Regions from separate parts of the Homo sapiens genome. Here region 1 is linked to region 2. The links are contacts of gene promoters, found by promoter capture Hi-C in blood cells and fetal thymus (Javierre and others, 2016). All regions are on one chromosome and are shown on one strand. The core of a region is centred on a gene start or on the middle of the fragment in contact, and the rest is flanking DNA. Distances in the headings are between cores, read along the strand shown. Region 1 overlaps RLF (RLF zinc finger). Region 2 holds the start of COL9A2 (collagen type IX alpha 2 chain).

What was found. Contacts are between HindIII fragments. The CHiCAGO score rates a contact against its expected background, and 5 or more counts as called.
Region 1: a contact is called between a fragment that was not itself captured here and the fragment with the promoter of COL9A2 in region 2, in 1 of 17 cell types (naive B cells). The highest score is 5.4, in naive B cells.

Annotation. Positions count from the first base shown.
Region 1 is chr1:40,209,520-40,212,219 of GRCh38, forward strand. The region is part of intron 5 of RLF (RLF zinc finger); the gene reads left to right. Among named protein-coding and RNA genes, the nearest start is that of TMCO2, 37 kb to the right of the region's middle. The HindIII fragment of the contact is 168 bases long and covers 1,342-1,509 here.
Region 2 is chr1:40,315,914-40,318,613 of GRCh38, forward strand. COL9A2 (collagen type IX alpha 2 chain) reads right to left here and starts at 1,373. Exons shown (of 32, transcript NM_001852.4): 1 at 1,210-1,373. The coding sequence starts at 1,284. RefSeq lists enhancers at 231-867, 868-1,504 and a silencer at 548-1,057. The HindIII fragment of the contact is 22,313 bases long and covers 1-2,700 here.

The sequences.
Region 1 (2,700 bases), core at 176-2,675, 110 kb before region 2:
TGCACAGAGAAACAATGTGGTATACACAGAGATAGCCTCCTATGACTTCATCTACATTTTTAAAAGCAGTCATATGGGCTGGACAGAGTGGCTCATGCCTGTAATCCCAACACTTTGGGAGGCCGAGGCGGGCAGATCATGAGATCAGGAGTTCAAGACCAGCCTGGCTAACATGGTGAAACCTTGTCTCTACTAAAGATACAAAAAATTAGTCAGGTGTGGTGGTGTGCGCCTGTAATCCCATCTACTCAGGAGGCTGAGGCAAGAGAATCACTTGAACCCAGGAGGCAGAGGTTGCAGTAAGCCAGGATCGTGCCATTTGCACTCGAGCTGGGGCGACAGGGCGAGACTCCGTCTTAAAAAAAAAAAAAAAAGGCGATCATAAGAGACCAACTATAAACCTGTATGCTAATTTATTTATTTGCAGTATCAGGTAGTGTAAGGAGATAGATTGCTTACCTCTAATAGCAGCTGCAGTATTTTATGTTTGGGAAAGTTAATCAGACTGAGATGTAGTAATGGTTATTCTCAGCACCTGACACATGCCAAAACAATTCAAAAGCAGCAGCAAAACACTACATTTTGGGTTTGATTCCTCATCCTGTAATAATAACAACTTTACTCTCTCAGCCTTTGCTTAATTAAAACCCGTTTTGTTTCTAATGTTGTATTAGGCATTGGCAAATACAGCAAACTGTATGGCCCAGTTTGTTTGCCAAAAATAGTTACAGAAAGAGAAGTACTAAGCTCAATGATTACTGCCCTAAATTCAGTAGAAGTGTAAAGATAGAGAATTCTGTGTTTATAGAAAAATTGATCCTTGAATTGGAGCTTTAAGTAATGGTGGGGTTTGGATGGGTGGAAAGAATGGTTTGGAGATGACTGAATGGTAGTAAAGCACAGGTACTAATGAGTACTTTGCAGGGATCCACTGGAGAATAAATACCCTGCTTAGGGCAGAGTGGTTATTGAAGTCTTGTGAGAAATAAGACCTGTTGGGGTTGGAAAAGAAGGGCTTGGAAACTCCATTGCATTAATGGTTAGATTTGATGCAGTAGAAATTAAGAAGGCTTTGCAGTTAGGAAGTGACATGTCTGAAGTGGTGTTTTAGGAAGACTAGACAGAAAGAATATGTATTATGTTTAGGACAAGAGATTGTAGCCAGCAAGAGGACAAAGGACAGGACTTGCTGACCGGGCAAAAACAGAGGAGGATGTACAGAGATACCTTCAAGAGGCTCATAAGGCTTCTAGCTTGGGAGACTGGAAGAATAGTGGTGCTCTGCTGCTAATTAGAAGAAAGAATGGGTGGAGGGACAAGGGAGAGTCTGGGAAGATGATAAGCTTTGTTTTATACATGATCTTTCCTGGTTTATTAATAACAATGTTTGGAAACAGGATTTTTCCTGATTGTGTTGAGTTTGCAGGGAACTGTGTTATAGGAAATACGATTTGATACTATTCACAACAGGGGGTTGGCACCCACCCAGCTACCTGTTTTTATAAATAAAGCTTTACTGGCACAAAGTCTTACATTCATTTCTTGTCTGTGGCTGCTTTTGTGCTACAGTGGCAGAGGTGAGTAGTTGTAACAGAAACTCTCTGGCCAGAAAAGCTAAAAATATTTTCTGTCTGTCCTTGTACGAAAAATATTTGCTAACCTCTGCTCTACAAGAATTAAATTTTCCAGTCTATTTCAGTGGTTTAATATCGGTTGGTCTAACCCTCCGTGTTCTACACGTGATGAAACTGAAGCCAAGCTGATAATGTTTCCAAGGCCCTTCCTGCATTAAGCTAATTAGAAAGGCCAAGCCCAGCTGGAATGCAGGTCACCTGGCTCCTTGGTCAGCCTTCTTTCCACTCTACCACCTATTTCCATGTGTTAGACATTGATAAGCCATGGTCTGATTGGGAACATCTTGGTGATATATCATTCTGTTCATATTTATACATATAGGTGTGATTTAAAACATTTTTATCATGATGTGGATTAATTTGTTAAATATACCAATGCAAAACATTTAGTACACATAAAGTTATCTTAAAATTATTTTAAAGGAACCCTAGTATCATCGTATCATCATAACTAGTCAGTCTTTTTTTTTCCTTTCTTTTTCTTTGAGATGGTGTTTCACTCTTGTTGCCCAAGCTGGAGTGCAATGGCGTGATATCGGCTCACTGCAACCTCTGCCTCTCGGGTTCAAGTGATTCTCCTGCTTCAGCCTCCCGAGTAGCTGGGATTACGGGCACGTGCCACCACGCCTGGCTAATTTTTGTATTTTTAGTAGAAACGGGGTTTCACCGTTTCTACTGGTGACCAGCTGGTCTCAAACTCCTGACCTCCTGTTATCCGCCCGCCTCGGCCTCCCAAAGTGCTGGGATTACAAGGCATGAGCCATCACGCCCAGCCACTAGTCAGTCTCTTATCCTAGTGATACTTTTCTTTTGCAAGTGTCAACAGAATTAAAAATAATCTGTAGTTTGCTTTGGAAAATTACTAGTGAGTCACCAGATGTTGATTAATTAGAGTTTAAATTCAGCATACGTTCTAAAGTAGCAGAGTTACACACATATTTGCCATCTACTTCACCTGAGTTCAGGAGAAGAGTTAACTTGAGCAACAGCTGGGAATAAAAGTACATTGTATGTTGGTACCTGGGGGTATCCCAATAATAGGCATATGTAATGGGAAACCGCTGCT
Region 2 (2,700 bases), core at 123-2,622:
ACGTGAAGGGTCCATGGTCACTGAGAGTGGGCGGCGGCGCCAGGAGTCCGCCCTGGATCTGCCCGACTCCTTCCACTGTGCCAGTTTGCCCTTGCGCGGTCGCGGTGGGGAATAGATGGAGACGTGGACAGCTCAAATAAATCACAGATGGAATGTAAGGTTGTGCCTAGCAGGCTGCCGGCCCTCAGTGAGCGGTGGCTCGGGTTGTTGTTCTTACGTGAACGACAGGCAGAGACAGCGCCTCCTCCTCTCCCCATGGTGCGGGAAAACCCGACGGGAAAGTGGGGGAGGCGCAGAGAAAGGAGGTGTAGGGAGGTGAAGCGGGTACTATCTTCCCACTCGGAGCGCCCCTTCGGCAGCACAGCTGCCCGGTCCTCCCTCTGCTAAGCCCTGACTGCTGCAGGGGAGCAGGAGGAGCCGGCACCTCCCAGAAAGCAGACCCTCTCTCTGGATCCCGTTTGCCTGCAATTCAATGCCCCTGGGTGGGTGTGAGGTTTCAGGGAGGTCACAAGTCATATCAAGATGAGGCGAGCTCACAGCTGGAGAGTCTCCATCCTGCTGCCCATCTCTGAACAGATCAGAGATCTTAAAAGGCGGCCCTTTTAAGAGGCCAGCTCGGACCCAGGCAGGGGTCCCGGTGCCCACGACCTCCCCAGGCCGCGAAGTGCCAGGCTGGCGCCCCGCAGGCGAGCTCGAAACCACACCCAGCACCCGACCGGGCCCAGTCTCTGCCCTACCCGCGCGCCCGCAGCCCCCGGCGGCCCTCGGAAGGGAGACGTGGGTAGGCGGGCAGGGCCGAGAGGCCGCCTCGGGGCGACAGCGGCGTCTGGTTGGAGCCGGCGCCCCCTGGGAGGCGGCGGGGGCGGAGGCTGCGCAGCGGGTGAATGAGCACCATTGTATGCCCCGCCACCTGGGCTCCCCGGGCTGCCAGGACCGGGCGCCAGCTCCTGCCCCACGCTGCCTGTCCCGGGCCGGGCCGCGCGTCTGGGGACGGGTCCCGTTTGACTCTCCGGCTCAGCCACCTCCATTCACGGTGCCGCGATGGGCACCATGTATGCACCCACCGAGGGGACCTGCCCGCGGCGCTGTCCTCAGGTGGCCTCTCGGGCTAGGGGTGTCAGTAGGCGCGGGACACAGGCAGAGCTCCTCCATCCCGGACTCCAGACCCCGCACCCTGGACCCTGGCAGCGGAGGGGCTGCGAAACTTACAATCTGCGCCAGAGCGAGCACTACCACCTGGAGGAGAACAAGGAGGCTGCGGGGGGAGGCCGTAGCGGCGGCCATGGCTGGCGGCGAGACCAAGGGGGACGGGTGCGTGTCCGCGCACGCACCGACGGCAGAGTCTCCCGGCGCTCCTCCAGCGCTGGCTGTTCGCGGGCAGGGTGGGCTGGGGCTCCTGAATATGCGGGGGGCGGGGCGGGGGCCGGCGTGAGCTGTCACCTGAGAGGACCGGCGGGGTTGCCGGGAGGGAGGCCGGCGCCAGGCATCCAGCTCCGCCCCGCTCGGTCCAGCCTCCTGCGCCCACCCTCTGTCCTCGAGGGGCGACCGGGGTGCGGGTCGGAGATGATGGTCCAGTTTCTTTGTGAGAAGGCATAAGGCCGTCTGAGGTTCCCCTCGGGACCTTCAGGCCCCAGCACCTTCCCCCTGACGCACAGCCTGTGCCCCATCACTTACCCTACGTCCTCTCCAGGGCCCAGGCCGAGAGCACCTCGGGCTCTGCAGATCTTGCTGCAGGCTCTCCCCAGCTCCCGCCCACCTTGCTCCCCTCTCCTCTGGCTCCTTCCTCTCCAAGCACAAACAAACAGGCCTTTTCCATATTAATATGCCACAGTCCTTCCTGGATCAGCCGTCTCATGAATACTCCATCGGCCTCTTCCAGCTCTTTAGTGGAGCTGTGTGCACCTCCCCCACCCCCGAACTTCCTCACCTCGCTTTCACCTCCCTACTCTGTCCCAACAAGCAAATCTGTCTCCTGGAGGTCTGCAGTGAAGCCCAACCCTTCTTCGGTCCTCCAGGCAGGAAGCTGTTGGCATCTTCACCTGCCCTTGAAGTCTTCCCCATCCAAGCTCCTGCCATCCAGCTCCCCTTTTTCTATTGCCTTTAATTCTCTGCAGCTGCCTTAAGCACTGGTGTGTTTAGGATTGGGCCTTCTCACTCCATGTTCATAGAAACAACTACCACTTTATTCACCAGAGTTTCCGAACCCCGCTGTCCAGCATAGCCCGACTCCAGAGAGCCTTCCCTTCCCTCCCACTCACTTAGGCAATATTGGTAAAATGCTTTGGAATCTGACTTTTTCACAATTATAGATATGACCACAGGCACCCCAAACTCTATGAAGTCTCATTTTCCTCATCTGTAAAATGGGGATACTAATAGTCCATATATATATATATATATATTTTTTTTTTAAGACAGAGTCTTAAAAGGCTCTGGAGTGCAGTGGCACGATGTCAGCTAACTGCAACCTCGCCTCGCGGGTTCAAATGATTCCCCTGCCTCAGCCTCTCGAGTAGCTGGAATTACAGGCATGAGCCACAATGCCTGGCTAATTTTTATATTTTTAGTAGAGATGGGGTTTCGCCATGTTGGCCAGACTGCTCTTGAACTCCTGACTTCAGGTGATCTGCCTGCCTCAGCCTCCCAAAGTGTTGGGATTACAGGCATGAGCCACCGTGCCCAGCAAATTGTCCTTATCTT